Regions from separate parts of the Homo sapiens genome. Here region 1 is linked to region 2. The links are contacts of gene promoters, found by promoter capture Hi-C in blood cells and fetal thymus (Javierre and others, 2016). All regions are on one chromosome and are shown on one strand. The core of a region is centred on a gene start or on the middle of the fragment in contact, and the rest is flanking DNA. Distances in the headings are between cores, read along the strand shown.

What was found. Contacts are between HindIII fragments. The CHiCAGO score rates a contact against its expected background, and 5 or more counts as called.
Region 1: a contact is called between a fragment that was not itself captured here and the fragment with the promoter of XIRP1 in region 2, in 1 of 17 cell types (activated CD4 T cells). The highest score is 5.2, in activated CD4 T cells.

The regions. Positions count from the first base shown.
Region 1 is chr3:39,068,729-39,073,357 of GRCh38, reverse strand. WDR48 (WD repeat domain 48) reads right to left here. Exons shown (of 19, transcript NM_020839.4): 6 at 4,499-4,587; 7 at 3,614-3,715. Among named protein-coding and RNA genes, the nearest start is that of WDR48, 19 kb to the right of the region's middle. The HindIII fragment of the contact is 3,091 bases long and covers 228-3,318 here.
Region 2 is chr3:39,189,533-39,193,985 of GRCh38, reverse strand. XIRP1 (xin actin binding repeat containing 1) reads left to right here and starts at 1,391. Exons shown (of 2, transcript NM_194293.4): 1 at 1,391-1,540. RefSeq lists an enhancer at 1,631-2,620. The HindIII fragment of the contact is 686 bases long and covers 1,201-1,886 here.

The DNA.
Region 1 (4,629 bases), core at 524-3,023, 120 kb after region 2:
TCTCCCACAAGATGCCAGGAGCATCAGTAGTTTAATAACCTATTCCAGCTAGTTTACAAGGGAACCAAGAAACTAACCAATAAAGCAAACGTCAGGAGCAAAGTTAAAGCAAATCTGCAACATATGTGAGTGAGAAATGTGGCAATCTGATGGTGTAGGGGCCAAGGAGGGGCTCCCCATTCCAGGAAGAGGTGTTATTCTGAGGTGGCAAAGCTTTTAGTAAAGCTTTGATCCCTCAGATCCTAGACTATGCATCTACAGAGTAAGATTTGACAACTTAAAGAGGACAAGGAAAGTAAGATATGATGGTTAGAAGTCCTCGTGGCCTGGGGCAACTTGTAACAGGAAAGGATAAGTCCCAAACTAAGGGTGCACAGTTGGAAGCAGATAAGGAAACACAGTTTTATCAACCCTGATATAGAACGCCAAGTAATCTCTGATGGTAATCAGTATTCTAAGACTACGGAAAAGCAGATCCCCCAACAAAGCAACCACTTTAAAAGTATTATGTTGGCCAACTTCTTCGCAGCATTTGGTAGTATAATTAAAGAATGTCCTGTTTTATAGGAATTATAGTGCCTGAGATCTTGTAGGAGCTGGAGGAGTCATCAAAACATTTCCACTGCCTCCATCCTTCCACTAGAAAAACATAGATAAACATGAAGATGTTCATTATGAGGTAACTCCTGGGACTAGGACAGAATGTCCTTCAATGATTCTGCTAAATCAGATTTAGTGGAATAGTCTGTAGCCCTAATCAGGTGCTCTTTGTTTCTGCCAATGAAGATAGGAAGTACCAGTGTACTGAGGCCAAGTTGCTGCTGACCAACAGGAGTGTTCCCGGGATGGTCACTAACACACAATCTCAAGTGCCAACAGAGATCAGCCAAGTGGACGACATAAGCTGGGGCAATAAGTGGCCTGATGCTCTGAGACCCTCAGACCCATAAGCTAGGATCAGCAGACTTGTATTACCAAAAGAACCCTTTGAGTGACATACAAGGACATGACTGACTCAAATCAAGATGGCAGGTTGTCCCAGCTCCTCAAGCAATGAATTGCCTAAGTAAAAGGAATAAAAAGATAGGTGGCTCTGCCCAATAATGTTAGCACCAATCAAAGCAACTGCAATGCTGATCTCTTTACAGGCAGAACTCCCTTAGGGAGAACCTCAAATAAATTTGGTAAATAAGAATCTTATTCTACAACAAAAGAATCAGGCAACAGGTAGATATTCATGGGATTCATTGGCCTATAAGATATGTATCTTACTGCCAATTCCTGATTTACAAAGCCACCAGGTACCCTATATTACAAGCTCACAGGGCAATTTAGCAGGATGCAATATAAACTTTGGCCCAGTAACTGATAACCACCTCTTCCATATTACAAGAATTCAAGAATCTGTAAGTAGAAGTTTCTTTTTTCCTCACCTCATTTTTCCAAATAAGTAATTATAGTTTTTTGTTGGTCAATTCATTAATCAGTAAGAGTTTCTTTTTTTCTCATCTCTTTTTCCCAAATAAGCAGTTATTATAGTTTTTTGTTGATCAATTCACTAACGTAAATATGCTTGGTTGTTGGTGGTAATTTTACATTTAGTCCATAGTTGCCAATAAGGAAAATGGGTGGAAGAGAAACTAGATGAAGAGTGATACCTATCAAGTTTGCACTCTGAGACTAACAGGCAGTTTTTAAAGTAGAACCACAATATTTCCTCTGCTTACAATGACTGTAGCTGACTTCAGATGAAGTGCATTTCTAACTGTACACGTGATACTTAAATCATCTTTTATAGAAGCACATTCATAATTGCATAGATAGGAAACAAGAGATGGAGCAGACAGGTAGAGCTTTAGAAGGTCTGCCAGGCCCATAGCCCCCTTCTGGAAACCATGGAGATGATATGATCCCGCCCAATCCTGGCAAAGCTAACTGAAGAGACACGGGCAACCATCTCAAGTGCAGCCTTGCAGCTACACTGCAAAACAGTGAGGAGCTGACTGCACTGGGTAATTCTTACAGTCATGTGAAAATGAGGCCACAAAGGAACTTGAGAGCTCTAGGAAATGCCCTGGCTTACAGTTAAGAAAATACTTATTATTAACACATATATATACATATACACACACTCTCACCAACTATATAAACTATATATTATGATTCTCACTTTGCAGATAAGCAAATTAAGGACTAAAGTGAAATCCTATCCTGTATGTTTATTGCGGCACTATTCACAATAGCAAATACTTGGAACCAGCCCAAATATCCAACAATGATAGACTGGATTAAGAAAATGTGGCACATATACACCATGGAATACGATGCAGCCATAAAAAATGATGAGTTCATGTCCTTTGTAGGGACATGGATGAAATTGGAAATCATCATTCTCAGTAAACTATCGCAAGAACAAAAAACCAAACACCGCATATTCTCACTCATAGGTGGGAACTGAACAATAAGAACACATGGACACAGGAAGGGGAACATCACACTCTGGGGACTGTTGTGGGGGTGGGGGGATAGCATTGGGAGATATACCTAATGCTAGATGACAAGTTAGTGGGTGCAGCGCACCAGCATGGCACATGTACACATATGTAACTAACCTGCACATTGTGCACATGTACCCTAAAACTTAAAGTATTAAAAAAAAAAAAAAAAAAAGATCCTTCACATCTCCAAATACCTCCACAGGTATCTTTAAATCTTTCTTCTCCTGGTTCTGAAAAATGATTTCCTTCCTTAGACTAGTTTCCAAACCTTCTGTTCATTTCTGGAGGCGACGGCTTCTCTGATTGATGTCTAAAGCAATTTCTTAGACGTGAAATTTTAGCAATTTCATGTCTAAAGTCTTAACTTCCACAGGAAAAGAAACTGATGGTGTTTCTCACCTCATCATCTTTCTACCTGCCCTTTTCTAACCCTATCACAATCAATTCCAGTTATCTCTGACTTATCACTGCATTCTGGAAAAAAAATGGCTGAGTCAAGGGTACATGGTAGACATATGTCATACCCATAAAATGATGCTCAGTTTTTGTTTTTTATTATCTACATTGATGAAAAAGTATTTTCCATTGCTACAGAACAGAATTGTGATTTATAATTCACAAATTACGTGGCCAACAGAGCTAATGTATAACATTACCAAAATGTTTTTCTTTGAAATGTTCACTCTGAGCATTATGTTAGAAAACTAAATTTATCAACTATATCTACATAGTCAACTGACAAAATGTGCCCCTAAGTCAGACCCACTGTGAGCAAATTTTCCACTTAATACACTGGCAAAAAGCATTTGATATCAAAGCTTCCTTTTGCTTTACACAGGTAATGTTTTTAGTTATTTTAGCCCCTATGCACCATAAATGCATATACTCATCTGCATCAGAATTATTCTAAGGAAATTCTTTGTTTTGTTAAAAGTGATGCAAATAGAATAGTTTTTAAATGTAGCTTATATGTGCAATTTAGTATTTTAAAATTTTTTAATTAGACAATTTATAATAAGTGTGGCTTTCGGTTCAAATCAACCTATGCAATAGTATACAAAGTGCGGAAATTTCTAACAAGGTTATTAGGTAAACACCCAAATGAAACTGCATACTTGCGTGCCATCTCTGTTTAATAGCAATGCCTTCACATTATCCGTGTGCCCTTTAAGCTTCATTAGTTTTGCACATGTTCTTGGATCCCATACCCGTAACACCTGTGAATTTTAATAGAGTATTACACAAACTAAATATATCAGTATCAAATTTAAATAACAGACAACTCTCATAAGTCAAATGATAACCATTATATTCTGAGAAGGCAATACCACTTCTGCCAATGGACACTGTCTAAGCCTCCCAACCTCAGGGAATTAGGCCTTTCAAACATCAAAAATGCACAGCCTCTTTATCTTGTCACTATACACACAACAGTTATAGTTATACTCTTACTTATTCAAATAAAACCTTTTGTTTAGCACCCACTAGGCAAAACCACTGTCCATATATTTAATAATTACACAGATTAAATTATTTTGGTTTCTTTATTTTCTAATGTTCAAACCACCCTTTAAGCTCCCCCGATTGGGGCACAGTGGCTCTCATGCCTGTAATCTCAGCACTCTGGGAGGCCAAGGCAGGTGAATTGCTTGCACTAAGGAGTTGGAGGGACAACATGGCGAAACCCTGTCTCTATTAAAAATATACAAAAATTAGCCAGATGGGACAAGGAGTGGCCTGATGCACGTGATGGTGTGTGCCTGGGGTCCCAGCTACTCAGGAGATTGAGGTGGAAGGATCGCTACAGCCTCAGCAGTCAAGGCTGCAGTGAGCCAGGATCATGATGCCACTGCACCCCAACCTGGGTGACAGAGTGAGACCCAGTCTCTAAATAAATAAATATAAAGAAGCTAATCGTAAAATACCTGCTTAAAAAATAGGAGACAAGGTATGTGAAAAATAATTTTTTTTTTTAAATAAAGAAATAAGCTCCTCCTTACCTTTTCAGTGGACCCTGATACAATGATTGTTCCCAGTTGATTCATGGCCAGGCTATAAATGGAATCTTTGTTTCCACTTAAAGAAGAAGCTATTGAGGATAAACGGAGCTAAATGTTAACAAGATCATCAG
Region 2 (4,453 bases), core at 142-2,641:
AGGAGCCTGGGGGACAGGCAGAGGGCTAGAAAAGAGCAGGGGAAGAGACAAGAGGGAGGGAGACCAGGAAGAGGGGGTTCCCAGATGTCCTTACCCCCATCCCAGCTGACGCTGCAGGACTGACATTGACTACATGGAAAAAGTGAGCAATGTCTGGCATCACCCCCTGGTACCAGAGGGCATTTGGGGAGTCAGAAGGAAGACCTCATGTGCCAGGCCACAGAATGCACCTGCATACCCACAGGCATGGAGCCTGGGCCAGGCCCACCTAGGACAAAACACCTCTTTCGAGTTTTTTGCAGATGGTCCCCTGACATCCTTCACCACACTGGTCTGACTGCCAGGATCTCTTGGGCCTCCTGGGCCCCTCACGCCCTGGTAAGCAAAGGAGGAGGCAGGTGTGACCCCCCCACCCCCGCCGCCACTCCATCTGTGACTGGGAAGCTGATGACTCCAGGGTCAGAAATAACCCCACGGTCAGCTCCCTGCATGCCGCCCTTCCCCTCCCCTCCATTCCCAGAAAGCCTGGGCCCTGAGTCAGAGGGAAGAGTCGAGAAGAAAGGACTCAGATAATCTGGAATGAAAACCATAGAGTCCTGCTGTGGAATTCATTCATTGGGAGGCCGAGGCAGGTGGATTACCTGAGGTCAGGAGTTCGAGACCAGCCTGGCCAACATGGTGAAACCCCATCTCTACTAAAAATACAAAAATTAACTGGGTGTAGTGGTGCAAAGGAGGAGCTGGGCCTGGCCAATCTCGGCCCAGTGAAGAGCTGGGCCTGGTCATTCAGATGTCTTCCCCCCAAATCCAGCTTCATCGGGGCTGTGTTGACCTGTGCTGTGGGGCACAGGGTGGAATGGATAAGAAAGAAGGAACTCTTTAGTGCAGAAGGGAATGGGGAAGAAAGAGAGCTGAGCATCACACTCAGAGGTATCCAGGCTCAGAACAGAGGAGGAGGTGCCCAGCCTGCCCTCAGGAGACCTCCAGTCTCCTGGCACGGTGGGTGGAGACACGTCAGGAAGAGTCAGAGGCAGGGCCAGAGTAGAATGATGGGGGCTCACAAGACGGGAGCAAGCTGTCCAAGGTGTCAGATGCCTCTTCTTAGTCACTCTCTCAAAATAGTCTGGGACACCCCCAACCTCACAACCCAGCTGAGTCACTGACCCCAATCCCCAGATCAGACTTTGGATGAATGAAGCTTCTCCCCCTCTGTTTCCCCTCCCCAGCCCAAAGGACATGTAACTGATTCCCCAGGATGGAAGAGTGACTTCCACAAGACCTAAAAATAACCGAACCACTTAATACTCGGAACATAGCCTCTCCCACCCGCCCCCACCACGGCCCACCCACTAGCCAGCAAGATAAAGGCAGCTGCTGGGGCTGGCAGGGGACAGAGACCTGGAGCCAGGGCAGCAAGAAGGTGTCTGTTGGAGCCAGCAGAACAGAACCAATTTGAACAAGAACCTCCAGAGGAACGACGAACCCTGAGACCACAGCTGCTACAGACCACAAACACCCCATCAGCCAAGAGAGACCCTTGGTGAGTAACCTACCTCTCCATCCTTCCACAGCAAGGCTGGCTTTCACAGCTGGGATCCCCTCTCCTTCTGAAATGGACGTATTAGGAATGGCTCTGAGTAGGGGAAGGAGATTGAGGGGCATGCATGGGAGGAGGTGAGTGGAAGTCTCAGACATAAAGAACCCACAAAGGAGGTAAAGACAGTGTGAGCCCCATGGGAGCTCTCAGAGTGGCTGCCACAGGCCTGAAGCTAGCAGAAAGGATAGGCTCCTGCCAGGCTGGCATGATCCAGAAAGGCCTGGAGTTGTGATTTTTAAAATACAGGTATGGAGTGCCTCAGGCTTCAGGGCTTCCTCCCAGGGAAGCTTCAGGCAGGCCCAGGATCTGGAGGAAGGAGGAACAGGAGAGAGGTGGGGGCAGGGGGCTGTAAGTAGGCCTGAGTGTGCATTGCTAGAACAAGCCCCATGCCTAGTTGTTGTGGATGACACTCTTGGCATATCTGGCCCAGGGATAGCTCCCAGGGGCTGGCCGGAGCCCAGCTCCCTACATATCATAGCCTAAAACCTGGGGTGGAATTCGGACTCTGCCCATGTCCATAGTCTTGCCCAGTGGGAAAGCCCCCAGGGCAGATTTGGGGGGCTCACGGGAGGGAGACCAGATCTGAATTTGCCCAGATGTAAAGACATATGGAGCCAGCTGGGCCAAGGAGGAGGTGACCCGAGGACAGCAGGGGGACCATCCTGAGAGGCTGGCCCAGCCCTAGGAGACCAAGCTCTAGGACAGTTCTTGGGGCTCACCCCACGTAAGTCTGGTCCCAGTTATGAATTCTGTCCTGACTCTACACTTGTCCCAGCAGTCTCAAGCCAGGCAAAGATGGTGGTGGGAAGGCCAGGAGTCAGGAGACATGCTTCAGGCTTTGCTACTGCCTTGCTGAGCCTCCTTGGACAGCTCCTTTCCCCTCTTTGGGCCTCTGTTTCCCTATTTGAACAATAAGGGGTTTAGATTGAGTGACCTCTGAGGGTCCTTAGGCCTGACATCCCTGGACTCCATGATAATAACTGTCTGTGGCCTTAGCAGAGATTCTGGAAATTCCTGGGGGCGGGGGTGGGGTGAAGCTGATGGTGTGCACACACCATCTGCTCAGGCCACCCTGGTGGTGACAGGATGGAGTAGAGGTGGAGACAGGCTCAGGTTTGCCTTGGGCAGGGGATCCTCATTGGAGCTCAGAAATGAAAGAAAACCACCCAGAGCTTTGATGAGACTCAGGCTGCAGGTTTCAGAGCTCACATTCCCCAAAGGTTCTGATGTCTTTGGTGGACATGCCAGGGTGGGCATGGGGTCAGCAGGTCTCAGTTTCCTCTCTCCTCCTTCTGAGGTAGCCATAGGGAGGAAGTCCTGCCCCACTTACTTCCAGTACCTCCCCCCAGTGCAGACTCCTTTGGCCAGGGAAGGTGTCCAGGTTCTAGCACCTGGCTGGCCTGCAGCCCAGGGGCCTGACACCAGCCCAGGAGGCAGGATAGGGGAGCCCAGGCTAATGAAGGAGATGAGGTGAGCCAAGGGTACTGAGGGTCCCCACTGGCTGGGCCTCAGCCTCCCTCTGAGCCCAGGGCTGCTGTTCTGAGGCCAGGACCTCAGCTATATTTAGCACCCTGTGTGGTGCAGAGCAGTGGGTCAGGGGCAGCAGGAGGGGGCACGTGCTTCCCATTCTTTCCCTACTGGCCTCTGGGGACTGTTAGTACACCTGTCACAAGAGAGATAAGACATACATGGACAGAGACCAGAGAAGGGCTTGAGGGGTGGTAGGTCATTGAGGGGCGGGGGTGTAGCCGGGGAGAGGCTGAGCTGGGGTGGCCATGAGGCCTGCAGGGGTAGGGCTTAGCCTGAAGCCCCCCTGAGTCCGAGCCCCTGAAGCTGTGCTTGCTTGCTTAGAGAGCGGTATCCAGGAGCAAGAGGCAGGGCTGTCTCTGCAGAAAGGACCCTGATCCCATGGTCCTCTCCCTGGTTGTTGTCACCCTCATATCCTCCCAGGGGTGCCTGCTGGGGAATAGACGGGTTCTATGGCCAATAAGAAAGCTTTACACCTGCTACCCTCTTATTTCTTGGGGCCATGCCCTAAATGGAGTCTAGGGACCCCAAGCCAGCACGGCCTTCCATTTATTCACCAAGATCTGACTCTGGGCCTAAGTTCCCTCATCTTTATTTATAAATGATTGTGCTAAAAGACCTTTGAGATCCCCCTAGCTCAGACATTCTCAGTCTTCGAGTATAATGCAGAAAACCCTGACCAGATATTCAGAATTTGGATCTGGCCTAAGCACGAGATATCTGATGAGCAGCTTCCCAGCCCTGATTCTCAACTGCTTCCGCTCTAGCATGGGCTGTTGGCCTCTGCTTGCCTCCTTGGGCCTGGGAAAGGTTGGAGTGCGTTGACAGCCAAGAGGTAAAAGTTAGGCAGCGTTCCAGGTCAACATGGCAAGTCTGCCCTCTGGTGTTCTGCAAAGGAATCTCGTCTCCATAGGAAATCAGTCACCAGTTTAGAGACCTGCCTCTCCAAGGCTGGGACTCCAAAAGTCAGGATTCCCCCAGGCCACTCCCCTGGCAGTCTTCCAGGGAAACACTGATTTTTAACAAAGGAAGGTGAGGATGGGGCATGTCCAGTTTGCCCACTGGAGGTTTATGCGTCCCTTATGGAGCTAAAGGAAAGTGTCTCATGTCCAGTGGTACCATGGTCACTCCCTAGCAACGCATGAGATGTAGGGAAAGCAGGAACCCACTATGATTAATGGGTCCATGTCCTAAGTTCAAGACCTGTTGCCCACGAACCATGCAGGCAGCGAAGTGAAGCCCAGGCCAGGCACATAGAGAGAGGGAAGGAGTCTCTAAGCGTAAGTCACCCAGAGCTACTCTGACTCTGAGCCCTGTTTACTACCATTT